Linked DNA regions of Homo sapiens: all the other regions are linked to region 5. Evidence: promoter capture Hi-C in 16 types of primary human blood cells and fetal thymus (Javierre and others, 2016). All regions are on one chromosome and are shown on one strand. The core of a region is centred on a gene start or on the middle of the fragment in contact, and the rest is flanking DNA. Distances in the headings are between cores, read along the strand shown. Region 1 has its middle 38 kb from the start of MTDH. Region 2 has its middle 88 kb from the start of MTDH. Region 3 has its middle 64 kb from the start of MTDH. Region 4 holds the start of CCNE2 (cyclin E2). Region 5 holds the start of PTDSS1 (phosphatidylserine synthase 1). Region 6 holds the start of TP53INP1 (tumor protein p53 inducible nuclear protein 1). Region 7 has its middle 2.1 kb from the start of NDUFAF6.

What was found. Contacts are between HindIII fragments. The CHiCAGO score rates a contact against its expected background, and 5 or more counts as called.
Region 1: a fragment that was not itself captured here is called in contact with the fragment with the promoter of PTDSS1 in region 5 in 2 of 17 cell types (megakaryocytes and M0 macrophages); the score reaches 7.7 in megakaryocytes.
Region 2: a contact is called between a fragment that was not itself captured here and the fragment with the promoter of PTDSS1 in region 5, in 10 of 17 cell types (M0 macrophages, total CD4 T cells, M2 macrophages and 7 more). The highest score is 11.4, in M0 macrophages.
Region 3: a contact is called between a fragment that was not itself captured here and the fragment with the promoter of PTDSS1 in region 5, in 4 of 17 cell types (M0 macrophages, naive B cells, M2 macrophages and 1 more). The highest score is 9.6, in M0 macrophages.
Region 4: a contact is called between the fragment with the promoter of CCNE2 here and the fragment with the promoter of PTDSS1 in region 5, in 12 of 17 cell types (total CD8 T cells, activated CD4 T cells, naive CD8 T cells and 9 more). The highest score is 12.6, in total CD8 T cells.
Region 6: a contact is called between the fragment with the promoter of TP53INP1 here and the fragment with the promoter of PTDSS1 in region 5, in 2 of 17 cell types (total CD8 T cells and monocytes). The highest score is 6.7, in total CD8 T cells.
Region 7: a fragment that was not itself captured here is called in contact with the fragment with the promoter of PTDSS1 in region 5 in 1 of 17 cell types (activated CD4 T cells); the score reaches 6.5 in activated CD4 T cells.

Annotation. Positions count from the first base shown.
Region 1 is chr8:97,604,137-97,607,816 of GRCh38, reverse strand. No RefSeq gene overlaps it. Among named protein-coding and RNA genes, the nearest start is that of MTDH, 38 kb to the left of the region's middle. The HindIII fragment of the contact is 3,404 bases long and covers 403-3,680 here.
Region 2 is chr8:97,554,407-97,558,210 of GRCh38, reverse strand. No RefSeq gene overlaps it. Among named protein-coding and RNA genes, the nearest start is that of MTDH, 88 kb to the left of the region's middle. The HindIII fragment of the contact is 6,759 bases long and covers 1-3,804 here.
Region 3 is chr8:97,578,165-97,581,961 of GRCh38, reverse strand. No RefSeq gene overlaps it. Among named protein-coding and RNA genes, the nearest start is that of MTDH, 64 kb to the left of the region's middle. The HindIII fragment of the contact is 4,555 bases long and covers 1-3,797 here.
Region 4 is chr8:94,892,978-94,897,146 of GRCh38, reverse strand. CCNE2 (cyclin E2) reads left to right here and starts at 1,946. Exons shown (of 12, transcript NM_057749.3): 1 at 1,946-1,970; 2 at 2,900-2,939; 3 at 3,028-3,124; 4 at 3,203-3,256. The coding sequence starts at 2,926. It also overlaps a transcript of NDUFAF6 not described here. RefSeq lists silencers at 357-576, 857-906, 1,077-1,126, 1,257-1,356, 1,737-1,956 and an enhancer at 2,573-3,134. The HindIII fragment of the contact is 5,265 bases long and covers 1-4,169 here.
Region 5 is chr8:96,260,046-96,264,081 of GRCh38, reverse strand. PTDSS1 (phosphatidylserine synthase 1) reads right to left here and starts at 2,180. Exons shown (of 13, transcript NM_014754.3): 1 at 1,863-2,180. The coding sequence starts at 2,041. MTERF3 (mitochondrial transcription termination factor 3) reads left to right here and starts at 2,472. Exons shown (of 8, transcript NM_015942.5): 1 at 2,472-2,581. RefSeq lists enhancers at 1,255-1,494, 1,640-2,332, 2,815-2,874, 3,026-3,719 and silencers at 1,645-1,824, 1,875-2,244, 2,425-2,574, 2,327-2,651. The HindIII fragment of the contact is 8,922 bases long and covers 103-4,036 here.
Region 6 is chr8:94,947,750-94,951,450 of GRCh38, reverse strand. It overlaps TP53INP1 (tumor protein p53 inducible nuclear protein 1), which reads left to right and starts at 2,073. Exons shown (of 4, transcript NM_033285.4): 1 at 2,073-2,297. It also overlaps a transcript of NDUFAF6 not described here. RefSeq lists enhancers at 1,218-1,267, 1,438-1,607, 1,474-2,103, 2,104-2,732 and silencers at 1,728-1,837, 1,918-2,297, 2,518-2,657. The HindIII fragment of the contact is 4,012 bases long and covers 1-3,540 here.
Region 7 is chr8:95,020,758-95,024,921 of GRCh38, reverse strand. It overlaps a transcript of NDUFAF6 not described here. Among named protein-coding and RNA genes, the nearest start is that of NDUFAF6, 2.1 kb to the left of the region's middle. RefSeq lists a silencer at 1-11 and enhancers at 1-61, 28-874. The HindIII fragment of the contact is 1,954 bases long and covers 1,835-3,788 here.

The DNA of each region.
Region 1 (3,680 bases), core at 855-3,354, 1.3 Mb before region 5:
GGGATTACAGGCATGAGCCACGTTGCATGACCCTTTTAGTTTTTTTTTTTTTTTTTTAATAATTGAGACAAGGTCTTGCTATGTTGCCCAGGCTGGTCTCCAATTCATGGGCTTAAGCAATCCTCCTGCCTCGGCCTTCCAAAATGCTGGGATTACAGGTGTGAGCCACGGTGGCTGGCCAAAAGTCCCCTTTAATATCTTGATCAGACAAGTTAATTTATTTGGAGTCGTGGATGATTTGAAGTTGATGTCACTACTCCAGCCTTATATAGTAGCTCCGCAGGTACTGCAGAAATGAACAAACAGTTCAGTGCTGGTGTCAGCCTGACCAGTGTGTGGTGGACACTTCCCTTTCTCCCAGATGGTCTTACAGGCAGGCCAGCTGGGCCACTGCCAGAAGCTTCTGATTGCTATTGGAAATGGACCAAACTTCATACATCAGGGGAAGTAAGAGGCAAGCTGTTCTCCATTGTTCAAATTTTTCCATTCAAACTCATATTCCCTTGAGGACCATATGTCTTTTTGCCTGTCTCCAAGTATATTGCCTGCTTTTTCATTCCTTGAAAGGCTCAGTAATACTTTTTTTGGTAAAGTGTTGAAATAGGCTTTTTACTATGAATAGAAGTAGTGATACATTTTCCTTGGCATGGCTTGGACATGCTATTGTTTTCCCAATTATTTTTGTTATGTATTTTGGAGAGTTTTTTTTAATTTTTATTGTTTTGAGACAGAGTTTCGCTCTGTCCACTGCCCAGGCTGGAGTGCAGTGGCGCGATCTTGGCTCACTGCAACCTCTACCTCCCGGCCTCAAGCAATTCTCCTGTGTCAGCCTCCCGAGTAGCTGGGATTAAGGCATGCACCACCATGCCCGGCTAATATTTTTTGTATTTTTAGTAAAAATAGGGTTTCACCATGTTGGTCAGGCTGGTCACGAACTCCTGACCTCAGGTGATCTGCCCGCCTCGGCCTCCCAAAGTGCTGGGATTACAGGCGTGAGCCACCATGCCCAGCCAAAGTTTTTGAATGGCTGAAACCCAGATGCCAGCTGTCCCCAAGGACACCTTCTGTTCTCATTTCATGCAAACCTAGACACATGGCTTGGCATCATTATGCAGTCTCCAGAAAACCCACTTATGAGACAATGGTTACTTAGTATGTGGATTTGAGTCTTTTGCTACATGATCTTTGATACATTAATTAACCTCTCCAAGCCTCAGTTTCCTTACCTCTAAAATGGAGATTATGGTAATAGTACCTACCTCACAGTAGGTACTACTGTGTTGTGAAGATAAAAAAATGATGATTTATGTTAATTGTTCAATAAATTGTAGCTGTTTTTTAATCTGCAATATAGATTTTTAAAAATTAAGGGAAGTTTCTAATGTATATAAAAGTAAAGAGAAAAGTACAATAAACTGCCATGTACTGGTCTTCCAGCTTCAATGATTATTAGTTCATGAACCATCTTATTTCATCTTATTTCTCACTCTTTACCCATTTGAAGCAAATTTCAGATTTCATATAATTTTACTCATAAATATTTCAGTATATATATATATATATATATATAAAATTTATTTTTTTGAGATGGAGTCTCACTCTGTCACCCAGGCTGGAGTGCAATGGCGCCGCTCTTGGCTCACTGCAACCTCTGCCTCCTGCCTCAGCCTCCTGAGTAGCTGAGATTACAGGTGCCTGCCACCATGCCTGGCTAATTTTTGTACTTTTAGTAGAGACAGGGTTTCACTATGTTGGTCAGGCTGGTCTCGAACTCCTGACCACAAGCAATCCACCCGCCTCGGCCTCCCAAAGTGCTGGGATTACAAGCGTGAGCCACTGCGCCCAGCCCTAGTATATGTTTTTGAGAGATAAAAAAGCCTCATGTTGTAAAATAACCATAATGCCATTATCACATATTAACATTAATAAAAATTCCTAAAGGCCACCACCGTGGCTCACACCTGTAATCCCAGCACTTTGGGAGGCCACTGTGGACAGATTGCTTGAGCTCAGGAGTTTGACACCAGCCTGGGCAACATGATGAAACCCTGTCTCTAACAAAAATACAAAAAAAATTAGCCGGGAGTGGTGATGCGCACCTCTGTTCCCAGCTACTCGGGAGGCTGAGTTGGGAGGATCACTTGAGTCTGGGATGTGGAGGTTGCAGTAAGCCGAGGTCTCGCCATTGCACTTTGGCCTGGGCGACAGAGACAGACCCTGTCTCAAGAAAAAAAATTAAAATCTTTTTTTTTTTTCCAAGGCAGAAGAGTTTTTCTTAGTACAGAACAAAATGGAGTCTCCCATGTCTACTTCTTTCTACACAGACACAGTAACAATCTGATCTCTCTTTCTTTTCCCCACATTTCCCTCTTTTCTATTCGACAAAACCGCCATCGTCATCATGGCCCGTTCTCAATGAGCTGTTGGGTACACCTCCCAGACGGGGTGGCGGCCGGGCAGAGAGGCTCCTCACTTCCCAGATGGGGCGGCCGGGCAGAGGCGCCCCCCACCTCCCAGACGGGGCGGCTGGTGGGGAGGGGGCTGCCTCCCACCTCCCTCCCGGACGGGGCAGCTGGCCGGGCGGGGGCTGCCCCCTACCTTCTGGACCGGGTGGCTGCCGGGTGGAGACGCTCCTCACTTCCCAGACGGGGCGGCTGCTGGGCAGAGACGCTCCTCACCTCCCAGACGGGGTGGCGGTCGGGCAGAGACACTCCTCAGTTCCCAGAGGGGGTCGCGGCCGGGCAGAGGCGCTTCTCACATCTCAGACGATGGGCGGTCGGGCAGAGACGCTCCTCACTTCCTAGACGGGATGGCGGCCGGGAAGAGGCGCTCCTCACTTCCCAGACTGGGCGGCCGGGCAGAGGGGCTCCTCACATCCCAGACGATGGGCTGCCAGGCAGAGATGCTCCTCACTTCCTAGACGGGATGGTGGCCGGGAAGAAGCGCTCCTCACTTCCCAGACTGGGCGGCCAGGCAGAGGGGCTCCTCACATCCCAGACGATGGGCGGCCAGGCAGAGATGCTCCTCACTTCCCAGACGGGGTGGTGGCCGGGCAGAGGCTGCAATTTCGGCACTTTGGGAAGCCAAGGCAGGCGGCTGGGAGGTGGAGGTTGTAGCGAGCCGAGATCACGCCACTGCACTCCAGCCTGGGCAACATTGAGCACTGAGTGAGCGACACTCCGTCTGCAATCCCGGCACCTCGGGAGGCCGAGGCGGGCAGATCACTCGCAGTCAGGAGCTGGAGACCAGCCCGGCCAACACGGCGAAACCCTGTCTCCACCAAAAAATACAAAAACCAGTCAGGCATGGCGGCGCGCGCCTGCAATCCCAGGCACTGGGCAGGCTGAGGCAGGAGAATCAGGCAGGGAGGCTGCAGTGAGCCGAGATGGCGGCAGTACAGTCCAGCCTCGGCTCGGCATCAGAGGGAGACCCTGGAGAGGGAGAGGGAGAGGGAGCGGGAGCGGGAGCGGGAGCGGGAGCGGGAGAGGGAGAGGTAAAATTTTTTTTAAAGCCACTGTTCAAGTTTCTAATTGTCTCAAAGATCATAATTTAAAAAACTGATTTACTTGTTTGACTCAGGATGCAATTAATGTCCACACATTGTGATTGTTGATGTGTCTCCTAAGTCTGGCTTAATCCATAATTGTTCTCACCCTTTCTTTGTTTTTTCCCCTTGCAAT
Region 2 (3,804 bases), core at 1,074-3,573, 1.3 Mb before region 5:
ATCCCAGCACTTTGGGAGCCCGATGTGGGCAGATCACGAGGTCAGGAGTTCGAGACCAGCCTGGCCAACATAGTGAAACCCCATGTCTGCTAAAAATACAAAATTAGCCCGGTGTGGTGGCACGCGCCTGTAATCCCAGCTACTCAGGAGGCTGAGGCGGGAGAATCACTTGAACTTGGGAGGCAGAGGTTGCAGTGAGCCGAGACCATATCATGCCACCGCACTCCAACCTGGGTGACAGAGTGAGACTCTGTCTCAAAAAAAAAAAAAAAAAAAAAAAGAACATGCAGCTGGCTTGCAGGTCCATTTGCTGACCTCTGCTTTTTTTTCTCTGAGACAGAGTTTTGCTCTGTTGTCCAGGCTGGAGTGTGGTGGTGTGTCTGGAATTGGTGGGTTCTTGGTCTCACTGACTTCAAGAATGAAGCCGCAGAACCTCGCAGTGAGTGTTAACAGTTCTTAAAGGTGGTGTGTCCGGAGTTTGTTCCTTCTGATGGTCGGACGTGTTCAGAGTTTCTTCATTCTGGTGGGTTCATGGTCTCGCTGGCTTCAGGAGTGAAGCTGCAGACCTTCGCGGTGAGTGTTGCTTCTGGAGTTGTTCATTCCTCCCCGTGGGTTAGGGGTCTCGCTGGCCTCAGGAGTGAAGCTGCAGACCTTTGTGGTGTTACAGCTCATAAAGGCAGTGCAGACCCAAAAACTGAGCAGCTGCAAGATTTATTGCAAAGAGTGAAAGAACAAAGTCTCTACAGTGTGGAAAGGGACCCAAGTGGGTTGCCGCTACTGGCTAGGACAGCCTGCTTTTATTCTCTTATCTGACCACTCACCCCCGTCCCACGCCCCCCCACATCCTGCTGATTGGTCCATTTTACAGAGAGCCGATTGGTCCATTTTACAGAGAGCTGATTGGTTCATTTTACAGAGATGGCCCTTGGGCGGTTGATGGGACCGGGCGCCGCCGAGCAGGGGCGGTGTGTGTCCGGGAGGCTAGGGCAGCGCAGGAGCCAATTGCCGGGGAGGAGGGGTGGCTCGCGCATGTCCGGCTGCAGGTGCCGAGCCCTGCCCTGCGGAGGCGGCTGAGGCCCGGCGAGAATTCAAGCGCGGCGCGGGCGGGCGGGCAGTACTGGGGGACCTGGCGCACCCTCTGCAGCTGCTGGCCCGGGTGCTAAGCCCCTTACTGCCCGCGGCCAGCAGCGCTGGCGGGCCGCTGTGAGTGTGGGGCCTGCGGATCCCGCGCCCACCCGGAACTCGCGCTGGCCCGCTAGCGCCCTGCGCAGCTCCGGTTCCCGCCCACTCCTCTCCCTCTACACCGGCCTGCAAGCAGAGGGAGCTGGCTCCGGCCTCAGCCTGCCCAGAGAGGGGCTCCTACAGTGCAGCGGCGGGCTGAAGGGCTCCTCAAGCGCGGCCAGAGTGGACGCCGAGGCCAAGGAGGCGCCCAGAGCGAGCGAGGGCTGCTAGCATGTTGTCACCTCTCAGTGGCATGATCTCCATTCACTGCAACCTCCACCTCTCGGGTTCAAGCGATTCTCCTGCCTCAGCCTCATGTAGCTGGGATTACAGGCACGAGCCACCACACCTGGCTAATTTGTTTTGAATTTTTAGTAGAGAGGGGGTTTCACCATGTTGGCCAGGCCAGTCTTCAACTCCTGGACTCAAGTAATCCACCTGCCTCAGCCTTCCAAAATGCTGGGATTACAGGCGTGAGCCATCACGTCCTGCCCTGACCTCTGCTTTCAGCCACAAACTTAGGTAAAAGAAAAGTAGCTTTTGCTCATAAAGTGATTGGAGACAGCCTGTTGTCCAACAGTGTCTCCCTTATTGGACCATGACTTTTCCCAGGCAGGGGCCATGTCTTATTTGTGTGTATATTTCCATCACCCAGCACAGCACTTGGCACGTGATACAGGTTCAGTATATATTTTCAAACAAATAAATTGAAGTGAAGAATTGAGTCAAGGAGACAAGACCTTTGAAGGCCAAAAGATCGAAGTTTGTGGTAATGAGACATCGAGCTCTGGTTTGAACTAAAATCCTTTGAAGTGAAAAACCTCTTGAGTGGTTGTGAAACTTGAACTTACCATAAATATCTCTTCGTATTTTTTGAGCCGATTAATCCATGGCTCCCATAAAATCTTCTGCACATTAAACAACAGGGTAAGAGCACCACGCCTTCCTCTGCCTCCACCGCCAACTTGGCGGAGACTAGACCCAAGGATGCAGGAGCCGTTCCTCTCCGTCTGAGCCTGCTGGGCTGAATGGGCATGAAGAAAGTTGGAGAACAGAACGTGCAAACCGGGTGAGTTGAAGTGGGTTCCTGCTCGCTGGAACTGGAGAGAAGTGTCATTTCCAGCAGGAGGGCTGCTTCCAGTACCTGGGGCTACAGAGAGGGACTGGGCCACATCTCTGATTAAGTTTCTCTTCTTTCCTTTCTGGGAGATGGATGTAAACAGTGACTGGTTTCTTTGGACAGAGGCTACCTGTGCTATTGAAGGGACAAAATCCACATGCCCTACATGCAAACTCACACTCCCATCTTTCCCTATTTATCTCGTAAGCTCACAGTTTGCTGGGCACGGTACAAGATGCAAATGAGGAATAATGAATGCTTATAGTGTGAAGGTGTTAGCTCCAGTTTTGCTCAATTCCCTGAGAATTTACATATTCTGGTCCACAATACCTTATCCAAAACCCTCAGGGCCATATACGTTTTGGAATTCAGATTATTTTGGGTTTCAGAAAGGCAAAACAGTGCACATGTTATATATTATGTAACACCCCCAGCACAGCCTGAGCAAGCACCTTTTCACCAAACACATTAATATTTGTGTAGAAAAACATGAATAGTCACACTCAGCAGGACCAATGACGACTGTTGGTGGTGTCATTCACCTCAGGTCAGGCTTTGCCACCAAATAAATTTTGATGCCAAATACATTAAAAGAAAAATAGGTTCTCAGAATTTTTTGGATTTCAGAAATGTGAGTAAGAGGTTCTGGGCCTGTATTCAGTCTTTCTTTCTTCTTTTTTTTTTTTGAAGACAGAGTCTTGTTCCGTCACCCAGGCTGGAGTGCAGTGGCACTCATAGCTCACTTCAACCTTGACCTCCTGGGCTCAAGTGGTCCTTTCACCTCAGCCTCCCAAAGTGCTGGGATTACAGGTGTGAGCCACTGCACCTGGTCAATGTTGTCTTTCTTAAAGTACTATCTCCCAATGATTCATTATTAATTTTCCTATAGAAGCACGTCTGTATAGTGCATCATGCTCTGTGTAGTAATCTCATTTTCAGACTTGAAACTGTTCCTCATGGAGTCATCAGTACACTGCCTTACACATAGTAGGGGCTTAGTAAGTGTTTGTTAACTAAACACACAACAGTCTTTCAAAATAAAAGTAATGATATATATTTATATTTGCAGTTGATGAAACCAAGGCCAGGAGGCTCCAGGATGTGGCACAGGGAAACAGGGTCTTTAACTTCTTTTTTTTTTTTTAGAGACGGAGTTTCACTCTTGTCGCCCAGGCTGGAGTGCAATGGCGCCATCTTGGCTCACTGCAACCTCTGCCTCCTGGGTTCAAGCGATTCTCTTGCCTCAGCCTCCCTAGTAGCTGGGATTACAGGCATGTGCCACCATGCCCGGCTAATTTTTGTATTATTAGTAGAGACTGGGTTTCACCATGTTGACCAGGCTGGTCTCGAGCTCCTGACCTCAGGTGATCTGCCCACCTCGACCTCCTAAAGTGCTGGGATTACAGGCGTGAGCCACTGTGCCCGGCCAGGGTCTTTAACTTCTAGTTGTTTGTCCTTGTCAT
Region 3 (3,797 bases), core at 720-3,219, 1.3 Mb before region 5:
CAAGTGATCCTCCTACCTCAGGCTACTGAGTATCTGGGATTACAGGTACCCACCACGATGCCTGGCTAATTTTTGTATTTTTTGTAGAGATGAGGTTTTGCCATGTTGCCCAGGCTGGTCTTGAACTCCTGAGCTTACAGGTGTGTGTGAGCCACCACACCTGGCCACCCAAGCCCCTTAAAACTTGATTTTATAATTAATGTGTGCTACTTTTGTACCCTGGTCATTTTACCTATTATATTTAAAATAAGCCATGCAATTAGCTGAGTGGAAATGAACACATATTGTTCTTTTAAAAAATAAAAATAACTAGGTGTGGTGGCATGTGCCTGTAGTCCCAGCTATTCAGGAGGCTGAAATGGGAGGATCTCTTGAGCCTGAAGGGTCCTGGCTGCAGTGAGCCGAGATCACACCACTGTACCCCAGCCTGGGTGACAGAGTGAGACCCTGTCTCAGAAGAAGAGAGAAATATTTAATAAATATCCACACTGAATATTAAATACCATCTTATGTAGATGATCATATAATTTTCTCCTTTATTTTATTCATATGGTAAAATCACATTGATTGATTTTTAAGTATAAATTAGCCTTTTGCTCCACTTTTGTTTTTTTAAAAATATATTTTTAAATTAAATTTTATTTTATTTTAGTTTTTGAGACAGGGTATCGCTTTGTTGCCCAGGCTGGAGTGCAGTGGTGCGATCTCGGCTCACTGCAGCCTCTGCCTCCCAGGCTCAAACCATCCTCCCACCTTAGTGTCCTGAGTAGCTGGGACTACAGGCACGTACCACCATGCCTGGCTGATTTTTGTATTATTTGTAGAGACAGAGTATCGCTATTTTGCCCAGGCTAGTCTTGAAGTCCTGGGCTCAAGTGATCCACCCACCTCAGCCTCCCAAATTATTGGGATTACAGGCGTCAGCCACCTTGCCTGGCCAGTCTTGTGTTCTTGGAATAAGCCCAGTCTCGATGGGATATATAGCATATAGCCATATTTGATTGGCTCATATTTTGTTTCAGATTTTTGCATCTATGTTCATAAGAGAGAATGGCCTACAATTTTTCTTTTTTGCAGTATCATTATCTAGTTTTGCTATCATGGTCAAGAAGACCCAATAAAATGCAATTGGATCATAAATGCCGCAGATCCCCTTGCCCTTTGGGTGGGATAACTCTGAGGAAAAAGGTCTCCTTGATTTCCCCAGTGGACTCAAGCTCCAGTTACTCACAGTGGCAGTTTGTTTAAGAACCAGCTTTTTTTGGCTGTCTTATCTTTCTTGTTTCTCTTCCTCACTTCCCTAATAATGCTTCCTGACATCACCTCCTTATGTTCAAATCCTTCCCTGGGGATCTGCTTCAGGGGGAACTCAAAGTCAGGATCTTGAGCTCTTAATTCCTGGCTATTTTTGTAGTTTTCTGATGCTTTTAAACAAATGACTTTTGTATTTTATCCAACTTTTCTAGTTGTTCCTGGTAGAAGAGTTGGTTGGGTGTAATCTAGTCTATCATGGCTGAAAGCAGAAATTTAAACGTATATCTAGCATAAAAAAAAGAAACACCATAGTATAATTTGGTAACTTTCCTAATAGTTGGATTCAGTCTTTAATATTTTATCAGTTCTGATGTAAAGTAACCCTGATAAAATAGCTAGTCCTACTCTTTATTTATTTATTTATTTTTTGATACAGGGTCTCGCTCTGTCACCCAGGCTGGAGTGCAATGGTACAATCTCGGCTCACTGCAACCTCTGCCTCCAGGGTTCAAGCCATCCTCCCATCTCAGCCTCCTGAGTAGCTGGGACTACAGGTGCATACCACCGTGCCTGGCTAATTTTTGTATTTTTTGTAGAGACGGAGTATTGCTATGTTGCCCAGACCGGTGTTGAACTCTTGAGCTCAGGTGGTCTGTCTGTGTTGACTTCCCAAAGCTCTGGGATTACAGGCATGAGCCACCACACGCAGCCTACCAGTCCTAATCTTTATAATTCACTTCAAAGTCTTATCTTGGAGTCAGGACTCTCCTGAAGAAGGAACACACTTTGGGACTTCAGGCCAGTTTTGGGCACCTCCACTTCTCCCAGCTGCCTGGATGCCTCATTTGCATGTGGCATTAGCCAAGCTAATAAAAGGTAAACCTAAGTGTATCCTCCTAGCCTCCTTACTGTCTTGGGAGGCTGCCACCTTCCCTGATTCCCCTGTATTCTCTTCAAAGCAGAAAGAGAGACTGCAGATGATCAACCCCACATTCACTCTGATGACAACAAAACCTCCTTTCTCCTGAACAAAAAGAATCCAATTTCTACATAACCTAAAAAGGGAAACATTTCTGTTCTCAGCCACTATTGCATCTTGAGTTTCTTATATATTGCTTCCATGTTCCTAAATTTAAATGATAGCATTTCGTTTGTTTGAGTTGTCCCTAAATAATACACAACTTTTATAAACAGCTTTACTTAAAAGGGACATACCACTTTTTACAGAATATTTTTCAAAAACAGCTTTGAAATCATAGTTAGCATTTAAAGAAGAATGTTGTCCTATTCTTTTTTCTTATCTGTTTTCCCTTCTGTTTCCTTCCAGAACAATCCATTTCAAAAGCCATTATTAGATGGGGTTGGGCAGGTCAGTGACAAAAGGTAGGGTATCAGTGTCTGAACAAGTTCAGGTGCGGAGGCATGCAGGGAGGAAGACCAGGGCGGGGTGTTGGAGCCATGCAGAGTGAGAAAGGCATGCACACGAGGGGCTGATGGGGGCCTGGCACGGGTGTCAGATACCAAGCAAGGTGGGATGCACATTCCTATGGTAGCCCAGCATGTGGCATCAGAGGCCAGGTGGGGTGAGGAGGGCTTTAGATGAGGGGAATCAGCAGCCTGGTGCTGGGTGTGGGAGTCCGAATAGGGTGAGAGGGGCCTGCCTAGGGGAGGGCAACCTGGCAGGGGGGTGTCAGGGCCTACAAGGTGGGATATTACATATAGTAGTGCTCCAATATGTCAAGATATGGAGGAGAGTAGGAGCAAAGTTTCTCACTGTCACAGAAGGAAGTGAAAATATGGAAAGGGAGAAAACTGATGAGCTCTCTACTGTTAGAGTTTGGAATTGGAGATATTACCGTGAGTTCATAGTTTTCAGTATACACAGATGGGTAGATATGGGAATCAATATAGATATGTGTGTGTGTGTGTGTGTACGTGTGTGTGTGTATGCGTGTGCATATGTATGCTCCCTAGCTTTGCTCCTTTTGAGGGCCTGAGTGTAGTACACATCAAGAGCAATGAGCAAATCTAGCACTGAGGTCTTGATTTTTAAGTACCATTCTCCACTAAAAGGATCCAGGACCCCTTGGAGAAGTGGCTGATACAGGGTTTGAGTAGGGAAGCACAGGATGAGCCTGAAATATCTTGTTGTGCCAAAGGATGCAGAAGCCAGCTTGATAGGAATGGATTAAAATCCACTGAATAAAATAGAACCATGATTCAATATGACGTAAATAAGTAAATGACTAACTTGAAAGATTGGTGAGGAACAGGATGTCTATATGTTCTCAAAGTACCTCCCTACAAAATATGTATTAATTACAGAGGGGAGAAGTGTAAATTTACACTGGAGAAGTCTGGTAGATACCACCTTAATCAAGTGATAGAAGTTAACATCACCAATAATAGATTCTGATGGAATGCATCGAGAAGAACTCAGCATCACTTCCATGATATTCCTGATAAAGATGACACAGAACCTGGATTTAATCACAGGGAAACATCAGACACACATGTTCTCTGTCTCTTTCTCTCTCTCTCTT
Region 4 (4,169 bases), core at 697-3,196, 1.4 Mb after region 5:
AAATTCAACCACGAGGGCCACCAGTTCTGCTTACGATCAGGTGACCCTTGTTGGGAGACCCCTGACCCCTTTTCTTGACATCATGCTGTTAGACCTTTAAGCTAGCTATACCGCTAACTGCGTTTTGAGTGACTGCAAAAGGGAGGCAACTTCTGCCCCGCCGAGAGCCATCCTAAGCGTTAGAAATGGCAGAAAGTTTCTTGGGACTGACAAGGCATGGGCTTCTCCTGATGCTGTCACCTTGGGCAAAGCTCCTACAGGTAAATTAGGGAGAGAATTATTTTGCCGGCGTCACGAGACGAAGAATCGAAAAAGTGTGAAAAAGGACTTCGCCCGCCCCAAAGCGCCCATCCGGCGGCGGCTATTTCCCGGGCCTCAAGCGCGCTCGAGCGGCGCAGCACAAAAGGCCGGGCGGGAGCGGGGGTCGCCGGGCGCCGCCTCCCGGTGCATCTCGGGAAGGGCTCCCGCCCGCGAGGCTCCGTCTCCCCGGCGCGGCCCGCTCGCCGTCCGGCTCGCTCAGGGCCTGGGCAGACGCGGCCCGCCCGAGCTACCGCGGGTTCCGAGACGCCTTCGCACTGCTCCTCCACCCGGGGGATCTTTGTTCCCGGAGCTGTTCCCCGCCTCGCTGCTCCCGCCGCAAAACCTGTTTGCGGAATACCCGCCGCAAGTCTGACTTGACGATGTGCAGTTTTGGGGTGCGCCAGTTGTGGGGGCATTCATAGAGGCAGCGAAGGGACCCCTAAGTTTAAACACCCGGGGAAGGATAAAGGAAGAGCGTCGGGCCCCCCTCCTCCCAACAGCGCTCGGGCGCGAACGGCGCCCTCCCGCGCTGCCGGCTCGCGCGGGCTCCGCAGGGCGCGCTGGCGGCGGCGGCGGGGCGGGGCGCGGCAGGCGGGCCCGGGGCCTGCACGTGGTGGCGATCTTTCTTCCCACCCGGCCAGGTCCCCGGGGACCACCGCGCTCAGGGGGAGGAGGAATGCCGTTCCCGGGCCCCGCTCCGGAGAGGGGTTTTACCCTCTGGGATCCCGGAATTGGAGGTGGAGAAGAGAGGAAGCAAGGGAGGGCGCGGCGTGGCGCGAGCGTTTCCTGCGCGGGGACTGCGGGGTGGCAGCTGGAGGCCACTGCAGGGGCAGAGCGGCGGGTTGGGGGAGCGACCGACCCATGGGGAGGGAAACCCGGTAGGGGGAGCAGGGAGCCGGAAAGCAGGGTTGATACATACCTGGGTGGGCGGGCTGGAAATGCCTTCCCTGGGCGCGCCGCGCAAGGCCGGCGGAGCGGGCTCCGGGTGGTCGCGGACCGGGACTGGGGAGAGCAGAGCCGCACTTGGCCAGGCGCGTGGCTGAGTGGTGTTTACATTCTGCAGCCACTCCACGTTGTGCTGCCGCCCGTGCCTCCCATTGGCCAGCTCTTCAGCCAACGCTTTGCTCCTCCCCGAGGGGCGGGCCCTCGGGTCCCCGCGTCGCTCAGGAAAGACCTGGGTTCCCTGAGGCCTTGGCGGGACAGCTAGGGCGCGCCCCTGGACGGTCACTTCCCAGCCACCCTATGGTCGCCCGAGTCGTGTCCCCCTGTTATGCGCCCGGGCTGAGCCGCAGGCTGACACCCCCGAAATCCAGGAGTTGCAGTGGGAGGAAGCAAAAGCAAACTGGCGGGAGATGCGCGAGCCAGGCGGCGGGGAGAACAGCCGCGGAGAAGGAGCCCCTGAGAGTTTCCCTACCGCCGCCGGCCGCGCCGTGGAGCGCGGTGGACGCGGGCAGAAGGCCCGGTAGAGTGGACCCCACGGCCGCTCCGGGTGGCGGGCGCGCACTGAGAGCAGGGCGCGGCGCGCGGGCACGCGGGCGGACGGGCGGGAGAGGGGAGCGCGCTGTCCGGAGGTGTCAGTCTGAGGCGCATGCGTGCGGGGCGGGACCGGCCCGGCCTATATATTGGGTTGGCGCCGGCGCCAGCTGAGCCGAGCGGTAGCTGGTCTGGCGGTGAGGAGTTGCTGCGCGTAGGGGGGATGTGGGAGGAAAGAAAGCCCAGTTGGGCCGATCACTTACCACAGGCGGGAGCCTCAGGGAGGAAAATCGGGAGGGCTGAGAACTAGACGACTGGGGGTCATGGGTTCCCGCGTTCCGTCCCTGTCAGGAACCTTGGCAGGGGACCGGGAAGCGGCTGGGCATGGAGAGCCGCCCCTCATTCTAGGGGCTTCTCTATCCCACCCTCATTTGGGGAGCTATCCCGTGGGAGAGAGGATGGGAGGCCGGGTCCCCTCCATGGGGAGAAAAGTTCCCAGCCAGCCCAGTCTCCCCTTTCTTTAGCTCCTTTTCCTGCCCTCCCCCACGCCCTCCGCTTCCCATCTGGAGTTGGGGTCCCGGCGCCCCTCCGAGCGGCGGTAGGGCGGCAGGGCCGGGAAGGAGGGAAAGGAGACTGGAGGCCGTGACACCAGTCTTGGTTCCTCCGCCCCCTGCTTCCCCGCCACCGCCGCTCTCCAAATTGGCGCGGAACCGGCTTCTCCACAGCATTTCGCCTCCACAACCCCCTCTCCCCGCTGGTCCAGGAGGGAGGCGGGACGTGGGGGCGCTGCCCAAGCCCCACTCCCGGTGTACGGGGGAGAGGGTGGAGGACCCAGAAAAACCCGTTTGAGGAAGATGTGCCTCCCTGCGCGTTCAAGGTGTCAGGAGTGCTTGGTAAATTTTTGGACACTCGCGTTCCAGCTGTACATTCAGTTGAGGAAATGCAGGCTTGTATCCAAAATGAATTACCATGAGCTAGCTAACATAGCACAGAAGATGGCAGGGTCACAGGGCCCAGGCCCCCTTCGGAGGGACTGAGCTTTCACCTGCGAATCAGCGTCTTACTGGCACTTGGAGAATGTGAATGACAATGTACTTGACTGCGGCTTTTCCTCTCCCCCCTTCAGAGGTTTTATACACCTGAAAGAAGAGAATGTCAAGACGAAGGTAACATTATCTGTCTTAGAGACATGTTTCAAATTAGTTGCTGCCTTTAACTTACTAATTACACTTCCTTTTTAAAAATTCACTACAGTAGCCGTTTACAAGCTAAGCAGCAGCCCCAGCCCAGCCAGACGGAATCCCCCCAAGAAGCCCAGATAATCCAGGCCAAGAAGAGGAAAACTACCCAGGTGATTTAAGGAGAAAGAGGGAGGAACGAAATTCCATGCTGGGACTTTAGTTTACCAATGGTCTTTTCTATTTTCCAGGATGTCAAAAAAAGAAGAGAGGAGGTCACCAAGAAACATCAGTATGAAATTAGGGTAATGCAGAACTGGGCTGGGTGGGTTTGGGGGAAAAATGGAGGATAGATGAATAAGAATAGAATTATGTGTTTATTGCTTTGCGATAGATTCCTCTGACACTTTTACTTTTAATGCCCCTAGAGGTCAGCAGGAAGGCGCCTATCTTTGGGTGGTTTCTATGTGCCCGAATCCTACTACAGCTGCAGAATAAGTGCCTTCAAGCAGCTGGTTCCTTTTTGTAAATCCCTCCCTCTTGGAACTGCCTGGTGCACCAGGGCCCGCCTAATCTGTCCAATATACTGCTCTTTGTTCCCTCGCAGACTCTAGTAGACGGTCCTAATAGCTGCTTCTTGGGCATAAATAGGATGTGAGATCACTGACAGCCTGGCACGCAGCCCTTTGGTACCTCTTCTTCCTATGTGTTTTACAGAAAGCAGCACTTTGGAGATAGTGATTGCGTTTGAAACCAGCATTATTGGGAAAAGAATCGTTTAAGTAATCGATTCCATTTTTAAGGTTTTGCTTTCAAATATTCAAAAGTATCAGAGCACACTTTTTTTAAAAAGAGCTTATTTGAAAAAAAAAAAAAAAGGTCCCTGCTACTATTGCTAGATACAGAGAACGATTCTGTGATCTTGAAAGTGATTAGTATTTTAGACTGCAGATGCATTTTGTTATTACTGTCCTTCTTCGACACCTGGTGTCTTCTATTACCAGAATTGCATTTTGTTGTCTAAAACATCCTATTACTCTTTATAAAAATCAATATGAGCTATATGGCTTGTTTATAAAATGTGAATGTCAAATTAGCTATATTGCCATCTATGTTAGCTAAAATTATGATTCTTTAGACATATTAGCTTTCATTTATGAAAGATCCATTACAAAAACTAAGGTTTTCCTTGCACAAATTGATATTTTTCTTTTTTTT
Region 5 (4,036 bases), core at 931-3,430:
GGAAAGGTCTGGTCTTCACCTGCTGCACAGCTTTAGCAGATTTTATAGTAATAGTGGCAAGATCCCTCAATCATTAAAGAGTAAGCAATTGTTACTTAAGCTTTATACCTTTAGGTAGATTCTTTCAAATGGATAAACACTTACATAACAAGAACCAAGAGTCAAATGAATCCCAGAGGTAAGGAACAAGTGTGATGTGGGAGGATATTAGTTTTATGAGGATTTGAAAAACTGCAGTTATTCCTAAGGGAGGCACCACCGGCACTTGTGTGTGTGTATGCAAACGACTGTGTAGAAGACAATTCCCTTTATGTTGTACAGCGCTGTCACATATGTCACAATACATTTAGTATCCGTTAACTGCTCCCCCTCCCAAATACTAGAAGTTCTCTCAATCCTTGTGACTACCCAATATATATATCCCTACACATGTTCTGCTGACCCTGACAGAGAACCTTGATTGTTGGATAAAAATACTGGGAGAGAAGTAACTGACATGAATTGTACATTGTGCTCCAGGGACTCTGCTAAATGCATTCACACACATTCATTTAATTTTCATAACCCTATATAAGTAGATATTTCATCCCCATTTTACGAGTGTGGCCCCTGAGGCTCAGAGCAAGGTTATGCAACTTAATTAAGGACACACAGCCAGTTTTGAAACCAAAAGTGTGGCTCAAAAACTACTCTACTCTAAGTTGGCCTTTTAAGCCATAATGGTGAGAGAGGTGTGACTTCCCTTTCTTTAAAGAGGTTCATTCAGAAAGTATAAATCATTCTAAGTAGGAACCACGGTGTGTACCTCCTTATGAACCAAGGATGAATTAGTTCTCTAGGTTAGGAATGAGGAGCCACAGGCGCAGTGCCAGAGTTAACATGAGGTGTGTTCAAGATTTGGGCTGGGCAGCTCCTATGAACCGGTATATATTAGAATGTGTGTGTATGTTTTCCAGGGAATAAGAGAGTTGTGTTATGCTGTGTGAGGTTTATGTGTTTCATTTAACACACAGCAGTTACTATACCCCAGGCACCATTAAAATTGCTGGACAAGATCACATTTCAGCACGTATGTTAGGTAATGAGTGAGCAGGGTATGCACCGCGTGATGTGTGGCGGGCTGGTGTCTGTGCAGCCATGTACACAGATGATGGGTATTGGGCTGTGCTGGAAAGGAAAGGTCCGCTGTGAGGTGTGTGTTTAGAGTGGCAGTTTGTGCCGTGGTACAGATGGTAGTGTTTGAGGCTGGGGGAAGTGTTATGCTGGATGACTTGTGTGCAATGCATACGGGAAGTGCTGCACAGGAAAGACCGTGTATGCAGCACACATGTGCATTTTTTGTGCGTTACGGATAGTGCCGAATACCGGAGTTCCACAGGAAGGGATCTAGGTTGTGTCCTGGGCCTGTGTATGGTGCCTGCAGGCGCTGTGGATTGGGGTGCTTTGTATGTGTAGCGGTGTGTGCTGAAAGTGGTGCATACGACATGATTCATGCGGTGTGCTGGGTAGGGACGAAGGCTGGAGCAGTGCAGAGGAGGGGCCCGCGTCGTGATGTTGTGTGGAGCGATGCTGAGTGCGGTGGGTGAGGGGGCGATCGTGCTAGGTGACTCGCGTGCGTTCCCCGTGTAACCGGAGGCGCTGTATGGAGAAGGGGCACTGAGGGGTAGGGGAGCAGGCTAGCGTACTGTGAGACACCGGGCGGGCGGAGGGGCCGCGTGGGCGGCGGGCTGCCAGTGCGTGTGCGTGGAGCAGCCAGCCCACTTCCTCACCCAGAGCCATGCCGGGCCCCCCTCCCCGCCACCCTCCCTCCCGCCTCTTCCCTAGCCCTTGGACGCGCCCCCCGCTCGGCTGGGCCGCCCCACCTGGTAAAGGCGAAGTACATGAGGCTGACGATGGTGAAGCTGAGCAGGGTGATGGTATGCGGCCGGTAGAAGAAGTCAATGGTGATGTCCTCCACTTGCTGCTCGTTGATCATCCGGAAATGCATTTTGTAGTTCACATCATCCTTGCTTAGGGTCCGGCTCCCCACGCAGGACGCCATGGCCCGCCTCCCCGTCCTGCCGCGGTGGCGGCGGCCCCAGCCCGAGAAGGCCGGGACCCCGGGGGTGACTAGCCACAGTAGGCTAATAGCCGGACGGCAAAGCCGGGTCTGGCGCCCAGCAAAGGCTGGGAGCAGAGGGAAGGACAGGCGCGAGAGGGCGGGGTCGCGGCGCCGCCACCGCGGCCTGGGGCAGGGGACGCCGCCGGCCGTCCCCACGCTGTCATCCTAGCTGAGGCATCTCTACCACTCGAGGAATTTTCAGACTCCAAGTCCACAGGACTTCAGAGGAATAGCGAGCCGGAGAAGGGTAGCCGGGGCCCCTGGCTGGCTCTTTTCAGAGCACGTAGCCCGCTGTCTCCCCGCGTAACCCGGCACATGGTCTCGCCCACTCCGGGCGCGGCCCACGTGGGCCCGGGAGCGCGGCTGCGCTGTGTAGGGCGGGCTGAGGAGCCGGCGTGCGGCGCGGCGGGACGGGACGTGCGGCCCAGCGAGTTGGTCGGTCCCGGGGTCACCCGCTACGGGAAGCAGGCCTCGCCACAGGTAAAGCAGGAGCTGCCCCAGCACGAGGATCGCGCTCCTGGCGAGGGTTCAGGTTCCGGCGCACCCGCGTCCAGACCGCGCCCCAGGGCCTCAAGGGCCTTTAGGTTTTCGCGGCCCAGTAGAGGGTGATTGGTTTTGTTTTGTGTTTTTCCCTGGCTGATGTAGTGAAAACTCAACCATGCTGGCTAATTAGCGCAGTGTGAGAAGCCTCAGGAGGGGGCTCTGCCTTCCTGCGCAAGTTTGGGGAACTGAAGTGGGCTAAAATGGCCTGGGAAGTATTGAGAGACCCTTTATTAGGAAGCTGCCCCCATAACCTCCCTTTCTCTCCTGATTTCATTTATAGCATTTCGTAGGTAGAAATCTTGAACTCTATTTCAGTGCCTTTTTCTAGCGAAGCACTAGGCACTCATTGAGAACAGTATATATGAATTGTTAAGAGACTTCAGTTTCTTTAAGGGTTTTCTGTAATTTTCCTGATGAAAGGACCTTGTTAGAAGACTTCAGGTTACCACCTTACAGGGCTTTTATACACATCTGCACATCCCCTACCCGCTTTTGCATACTGTGTAAGCAAGTGAGTTAACTGTACTTGCCATTGATTTATTTCCATTCCGCAAACATTAGAGCAGTACAAGGCTCTGGGAAAGTGGAGAATAGTCCCCGGAAGGATGGATCCAGGGATGAGACCCAGCTCTGCTCTCGTGCATGAACAGTTAATCAATTGTTAAGATGTGTAGGCAGCAATGAAAGGATGTGGAGAAGATAGTGCACTTGTAAATAAAAATGCAAGGATAAACATTAGTTGTATGCACAAAGATCTTTTAATGACGGGGTGAAATTTGAAAGTGAGTCTTCCTGATGTTTAAGTGGTATTGAGTGTGGAAAGGCTTCAGGATGAATTTGGGATTTCAGGAGTTTGAAGTAGGATGAAGTGCTTAGACGTCAAAAAATGTTAGAGCTGATAGGGGCCTTAAGAATCATCTTATTGTACCCCTAGCCTTTTAAAAAAGCATTATTTGAAGAATAGTTATTGACCCCACCCCCACCCCCCACATCATGGGCTAGACTGCTGCTTTTGTTAGACTGCTGCCAGAAACAGCCTTGTCAAGGTAGCACAACCGAGGTCTTCTGACTTTCAATTTAGTGCCCTTATGACTACCGTGCAGAGAATGAATGTTGTAGGTTTGAGGGAAAACTTGGCACATTTGGAGTCCCATTTCCCACCAAAATCTAACAGAAACCACCTATCCCAGCAGGGTATTGTGAATACTTACTTCTTTTCTAAAATCATCGCAGAATGGGCCGAGCGCAGTGGCTCACGCCTGTAATCCCAGCACTTTGGGAAGCTGGGTGGATCACCTGAGGTAAGGAGTTCGAGGCCAGCCTGGCCAAGATGGTGAAACCCCGTCTCTACTAAAAACACAAAAAATTAGCCGGGCATAGTAGCGGGCGTGG
Region 6 (3,701 bases), core at 824-3,323, 1.3 Mb after region 5:
CTGTTAGCTTTGTGTTTTGGTTATCGCTGCTTTAAAAACTACCCCAACATTTAGTGCCTTAAAACAATGATCATTTATTTGTTCACAATGCCGTCATTTTGGCAGTGCTCCGTGGGGATGGCTTATCTCTCCTCTGTTCAGTATGGTGTCTGCTGGAGCTGGAACTTCCTAAGGGCTTTTCCACTCATGTGTCTGGTAGCTCAGCTGGGATGAGCTGAAGAGCTAGAGCTGGCCAGGCATCTCTTTCTTTTCACATAGCCTCTCCCTGTGGCTAGCAGGGTGGTCTCTCCTCATGGGTGGCTGGCATTTTCCAGAGTACAAAGCAGAAGCTGTGGGGTTTGCTTAATGCTTTTGCTTAATGACGAGGCTTGGAAGTCCTAGAACATTCTTTCTGCCACATTCTATTGGTCAGAGCAATCACAGGGTCAGCCCAGATTCAAAGGGAAGAAAAATACACCCACTTCATGATGGAGATACTGTTGTGGTCATCTTTGGAAAAATGATCTACTTCATATTGAATTTTTCTATCATAACAAGATGATGATTTCACATGTTGCTTTAACCATGATAAACCTTATCAAACTGGAAAAAGGTAGGCCTTTTTCTTTTTAAAAATTAGCCCCTTGTAATTGTCATCATACCTTGGTTCTGAATGTGGAGATGGCCTCTTCAATGGATTCCTAGGGAGAAACAAGAGATCATGGGGCTCCTACCATAGCATGTGGGAGAAAATATTAGAACAAGCCTGATTTGCAAAAACCTAAAATCCAAAGCATGTTCAAGTCTGTGAGACTATCTAGAACACAGTTTTAGCTCTTTCTCCCAAGATAAGGTCCAATGACCATCATATTTTGATCATTACTCCTTGGTGTCTGACAACTCCCTGCACTGCAATTTACATCCTTTAAAACCAGCATTGTTGGAAATGGACTGACTACATTGTGAGGGTCAGAATGTGAGTGTCTTTCAGATACTGTAATGTGTGATAGGCATCCCTCCAGGGTTGCTATACAGCTCACCCCAGGTCAAAGAACTACATCCCAGTCCAAACAGTATCCACATGAGAGCTGATAGGCATCAACGTTACTCACCTGCCTTTGCCAGACAGTTAATCCACCTATATGTGGGACAGAGCCTTGGTCTGGAAAACACTTTCAAGCCCACTGTCTCACTCTCTTGTCACTATAAATAACCTGGTGAGTTGGCAGTCCCGGCGTGAATGCCCACAATTTGCAGGTATGCAAACAGAACAGAGGGGCTAAGTTCCGTGGGTCACATGAGAGCTAGGCTGCAGCGCCTGGGGAGGCGGCCGTTCCCGCCCGGTGCGCTTGTTGTCCGCTGGAGCAGAGGCCCCCGAGCCTGCTGACCTCTCTGCCTTCAGGCCTGGTCTCGCAGTCCCTTGTGCCTCGCCTATAGGCAGGCGGAATCCAGAGCGTGCAGCAAGCCCGGCCGGCTCTCGGTGGCGGTTTCTACAGCAGGTGGGGCCTGGCTCCGTGATTGAGCGGCCTCTACCCCTCTATCTGGGGCCCAGCAGCGGCCCCCTCCCAGCACCCTGGCTACACGTCTAACCCTAGGCTGACCAGGTGGGGCTCTCGGAGGCGTTAGCCCCAGCCCTCCCAGGAGTCTTAATGTTCCTCTCACAGGAAAAAACGTTCTGCGCCCTTTGTGCCCCAAACCCTCGACCCTTCACTCGGCGAGAGGGGTCGCTGAGGGAGAGATCCACCTCTGCCCTTCCCGTTGCCCGCCGGTTCTTCCTCGCCCGCCTCTTACGCACCCCGCTCCCGCCGGCTCCTGGAAAGCCGGCCCCGGCCCCAGCGCTTCCCTCCCCGGCCTAGCCCCTCTCTCCCACCCTTCCGCTCGCCCAGGCCTTCACGCTCAGCTCCCGGTTTTTGTTGCCCGGGCTTGTTTCGGAGCTGAGCGCGCCGCCGGCCGGGCGCCAGGTCACGTGCGTTGGTGACAACCTCTCGCAGGGCGGCCCCGGGGCCCCCGCACCGCCGATTGGTGGGGCCCGGCCTGGCGCGGCCCGGGGCGGGGCAGCGGGGCCCGACGGCGAGCGGAGCGGCCGATCAGCTGTTGCGAGCGCTGCACAACAACAAAAGGACTTGGACTGGCCGGCCTGGGCGCAGCGACCCGAGGGCTGGAGCCGGCCCCGCGCCTGCCGTCTGGGTACCTGAACGAGGTGCAGCGCAGCCCGGCCCCACCGCAGCTACCTCAGCAGTCCCGCCCCGCCCGCGTCCTTCCCCGCCGAGCCGGCGGCCGCTCCCTTCCCCGCGCAGCCCCGCACGGCCCGGGCCCACGTAAGTGCCGGGGGGGGGCGGGCGGGCGTCCGTCCAGGGCCGCCTCGCTGCCGGTTGGGGCCGCAGCGCTGCCCGCTCCTGAGCCCGGCGGGGCCGGCCGCGCGCCCTGCCTTCGGGGCGCCGGTTGCGCGTTCACCGAGCCCCCTCGCTGCCTCCCCTCGCCGCCGCCGGGCCCGGCCGCCCACCCAGTGGGTCGGTCCTCGGCGGCCCCCGGGGCCCAGGGCGCGGACAGAGGCTGACAGAGGCGGCGGCGGCGCGGACAAGGGCCCGGCCTGGCCCCGGCGCTGGGCGGCGGTTGGGAGTTTGGTCTCTGCCTCCTCCCCCGAGCGTGGCTTGTTTTCTTGGCCGCGGCGGGACCTCCTCCTCTCACCCCTCCTCACTCCCCTCCACTCCTCCTCCTCCGCCTGCTCTCGGCCGTTGGATGGGGCCGCCCCTTCGGGACTCGGCGTCGGGGCTCCCGCGGCCACCCCCGGGACGCATCTCCGAAGACAGCGGCGCTTGGGCTTGTGGCCCGGCGCTCTGTCCCCGCCCTGCGATCCCGTCCCCTGCGCCTGCCCTCCGAGTTCCGGAGGCCCTGCGGCTATGGGGAACCTGCTCCGTGACCCGGCCACCGGCCCCCGCCTGTCCGCGGCCTGTCCCTTGCTTGACCTGGCTTGAACTCAGTCTTCGCTACCTGACTTTGCACCTGTGGAAAGAGCGCTCTCCTTGGCCCTTAACATTTAGATCCTTTGGATCGCTCACGCTTACTGAGCGCTGAGTATGTGCCATATACTATGCTGGGGGCTTTGCTTTATCGCCCCAGTTGATTCTCATAATAACCTTATATGAAATAGGCCCGGCTATCTTACACATAGGAAACCCGAGGCACAGAGAGATTAAGTTGCTCAAGGCCACACAGCCAATTAATAAAAGGAAATGGTGTTTGTATTTCAAAGTGGCAGCTGAATTTTACCTGGAGAGTCTGTTTTGCTTGTATTTTCTGATTATATCTGCTCAGTAGGTTAATTCCAATACAGAGTGGATTAAGGAAGAGCCTCTTTACAACTGTGACTCCCAAGGACTTGGGCATCTATTGCTAAAAAAGCCTTTTCTCAATGCACAATAGTTTTGGGAAAAGGGGGAACAATGTGACCCTTGGGGTCACTGAACAGAAGTCATAATGAGTTCCCCCACGATACTGAAATCACCAGCCTGGTAATTGAAATACATTTTCATTTGCAGATGTGAAAAGCACTGGGAAGCTTTTAAGTCGCAATCAGTGTAATTCTGAACTGGCAGCATAATTTTAAAAGGCCCCTGCCTGGAACCAGGACCTTACTAATTTCTGTGACCAAGGTCTTGTTTTCTCATCCTATCTTTTGTTCTTTCCTGCCATTGCTTCCTCTGATGTCTGCTTTCAAAATT
Region 7 (4,164 bases), core at 1,562-4,061, 1.2 Mb after region 5:
TTGAGTCGCGGGAAGGCAGCCTCTGGACGCCGCTCAAAGAAGAGCCAGGTGTCGCTGTGGTCCTCTGCATCTGGGCCGCCGCCGCGACTCTTTGGCCTTCGTTCCAGGAAAGACCCGCCCAAGTCCGTCCGACCCCTCCTGGGCTCTTCCCCTTCCCCCACGTGCATCCACAGGCGACCTCAGAGCACCTACAAGAAGTGATGGGTGCTGCTGGTGAAGGAAGTAGCTGCCAAAATCACGCCCCGCCGCCCCTATACCCCAAATCCACCATGAGAACAGAACACCTTGCACTGTTTCTCAACAGGGGCTGCCTTGGCACTTTGGGCGCAATAGCGCTGTCCCGCACGTTGCTGGAAGTTTGCAATAGGTGAATGCCCAGTCTTGGTGACCACCAAACGCCCACACACCACCAAAGGCCTCTGGAAATGTCGCCCTGTTTGGGAACCACTGGCCACCTAACACCTCCAGCAGAAAAGCACACACATCTCTCAGAGAAGCCACACAGTAGGCCATTATCAACCACTACCTATAGCTAACCTGCTTGCTGACTTTTTTCTCCCAGTATCCTCTGGGTTCCATACGGGCAGTGCCATTATTTTGTTTCCTGCTTTACCCCAATGGCTGTCACTTGAAAATTGTAGAAGCTGAAGTGCCTCAGTTCACATAAATAGTAAGTAGTCGGGTAAGATCCAAACATTCAAAATATCTGTGTTATTCCACAATCTTATTTGGACAGGGAAAGGAAGTGAAGACGGCCATAGGCCAGAGCCTGCTTGTCTGGGCCTCCAAGGTCCAGCATGGAACTCCAAGGAGTCAAAATTTTCAATGTAAACCTGACCTTTCAGGTCCTTAGGAAGATGTATTTATCAAGGCAGGAAGACAGAGCTTTTAACAGTTTACTAACTTGATTTATAACTTTTTTTTTTTTTTTTGAGACAGAGTCTCACTCTGTTGCCAGGCTGGAGTGCTGTGGCTTGATCTTGGCTCACTGCAACCTCCGCCTCCCGGGTTCAAGCGATTCTCCCGCCTCAGCCTCCCGAGTAGCTGGGACTACAGGTGCACGCCACCACGTCCAGCTAATTTTTGTCTTTTTAGTAGAGATGAGGTTTCACCATGTTGGCCAGGATGGTCTCGATCTGACCTCATGATCCGCCCACCTCAGTCTCCCATAGTGCTGGGATTAACTTTGAATATTTGTTCACATGGTATGTTGGCTTCCTTTGGTACTCTTACTTTCAGGGCCCTCAAATATTAGAGGTGGGTCTAGCTGCTACCAACTAGCTGATCCCAGCCAGCAGCTGCCTACACTTGAATCCCTCTTGCCTCCAGATTTGCCTAGACTTTTCTTGCTATGGCCAGACTGGTTCTTTCTAAAATGTCCATCTGATCATGGCGTTTCCCTACTTGACAGCATTTACTGTGTGTTATATGCAGTCCGTCCATGATGTGGCCTCAATTTACCTTTCTGCCTCAACTCTGGCCACTTGCCTTTGTGACTCCAAGTTAATGTTTTTGTTTAAACCCAAGGTAAAGCACCTTGTCCTCTGGCCCTAAGAACTCTAACCAATTCATGCAACTTTGGTTTTTACTCTCTGAAATTACCTTTCTTCATCCTGTGTAGTAGCAGAACCCCGGTGGTGGGTGTTACCCTTTCATCACCAGTGACTGGTCCAGGACAGTGCATATTTCCCTGATCTGGCCAATTAGACTTGAGAACAAGTCCACTGTGGTGCTTCTGGGAAAGTTGCTTCACTAATAAAAGGAAACATAAAATTCAATATACTACATATGAAATATTCTTGGCAAAAAGGCTTAACATAAAGTTAATTAAGCTTCTAAATCTAATTTTAAAGTTTATAAGAAAAAGACAAGAAACAAGATAAATCGACACCACAGGGAAACAAATCAGAAAAATTCGAAAGAAAAACCCAATGTCACTCCTGCGATTAGGTTATAAAAGGTCTGCACCTTCCATATTTCATCTTGGGTGCTCTCTCTCTCTCTCTCATCACTTACTCTGTGGGAAGCTAGCTGCCATGACACGTGAGGGGGATTAGTCCTTTGTCTGTAATATAGATCATTATTATTTTCCTCAGTTAGGTTTTAGTTTTGTCTTTGCTTGTGGAATCTTTGCCATGCAGAAATTTTGCAATATATTTTTATCTAGTCAAATTTACAATATTTACTTTTATGGCTTCTGGATTTTGCAGTCTTTAAAAAGGCCTTCCCCATTTTAAATGTGTTAAAAGAATCCCTTGCTTTCTTCTAGTCCTTCTGGTTTCTCTCGTACTACTTGTAGATTTCACTTTTTTACATTTCTTTTTTTTTTTTTTGGAGGGGTAAAGATTAGGAAGGTATGAATCTAACTTTTTTCTTTATATCTAGTAGTTGTCTTACTATCATTTATTCAGTAGTCCACCTTTTCCTCCTTTGATTTGAGATGCTTCCTTTTTCACAGAATAAACTCATGCATATACTTTGTGTCTATAGTGTTCCATTTGTCTATTAATGTTCTAGTAGTAAACTCTTTTAACTATTGCGTCTTTAAAATATGTTTTCATAGATATCTAGTAGGGCTAGTCCTTCTTCATTACTCTTTTTCTCTTCCCCGGTCTTCCTGGCCATTCTTGTTTATTTTCCCATTTGGCTTTTAGGATCAGCCATTCGATTAAAATAATTCTGAAGGTATTTTCATTACAGCTATGTTAAATTTATACCTAATGTATGGAAAACTGGTATTTTTATTATATTGAACCTTCATAAACATTTTTAATTACAGCATTATAGTTCATCTTATCAACAGATATAACACATTAACTATGCCCTTATTCAATCCTTATATTTTCCACAATTAAATACTTTTTAGATGAACCACTACTAAAAAGGAAAAACAATTTTTCTATACTTATGCAACCCTTCTGACACTACATGTATAGATCTTCCACACCAAGCATTTTCAGGACTACACAGTTAGGACAGAATCCACAGGTTCAGAGTTCAGTCTCACAAGGCTGCCCCCTACTTTGGACACCAGTAGCAATTAGTGAGTCCTTAGGTTACCCATGCTTTTGTTTGACTTGGCTACAAATCAAGGATTTTCAGGACCTTCCTCCTCAGGTTTGATAATTTGCTATGATGGCTCCCAGATATCAGGGAAACACTTATATATATTTACTGGTTTATTATAAAGGATATAGATAAAGGTCAAAGAACAAATATAACACATTTATAACAAAAGATGCTGTCCCTTAATGGTCCAGAGAACATGTTTCTGACTTCCTGCCAAAAGGACACATACTGAGTTTTTTTCTTAGAATGACAGTGACTTGTGAGGAGCTGTTCTATGCACATACTGCCTCCTGATTCGTCTAGCAACCAGTAGCACGTGCCAAGAAGGGAAAAGGCTCACAGAGTTGGAAATATAGTCTGTTGCCTTGGGATAGTGTTTCTGGACAAAACATTCTTCTAGGGAAATAAGAAATTTCATCCTAGCTGATCCACAATTCTATTGCATAACTGAAGGTCACACCTGGTGCTAAGTTAAATGTTTGTCACTAAAGAGATTTCCATTTGGCAAACAAAATATTGTGGGATTATGCTGTTCCCTCTTTCTGGATTGTCCTTGTGTGCTGTATCTTCAAGGAGGCCATTTGGTGATAATCCCAAATCCCCAGCCTTTAACCAGCCACCTACGGCCTCTACAGACTCCCAAGAGAGCTACACAGAGGACAGTCCTGGCAAATGGGCAATGTTTATTACACTGTTTTTACAAACCCCACTGCTAAGCTTGTCTGGATCACTTCAAAGGCAAAAAGACATGTAGAAAGACAAACCCAACAAAAATGGTGTGATTCAAGACCTAAATCAAAGTAAGCCGCAACCCAAGGCTTTCCTGAGATTTGGGGTTATAGGAGGAGAGCTCTAAGTTTGTCCTTGTCACCACAAAAGTTCTAATGCCCTTTTTCCCTTTCATGAACCTCTACTCATCCCCCAAACACCTAATTAAACACCTCTTCCTTCCTGAATTTTCCTTGACCATAACCCCATCCAAGAAAAAAAGAGTTGTTCCCCCAGTTTTGATCCTATAACAATTTGTGTTCATGTTTGATCACTTTGCCAGGTCTTACTGTGGTGATCTGCTTATATGGCCCTCTTCCCAGACTG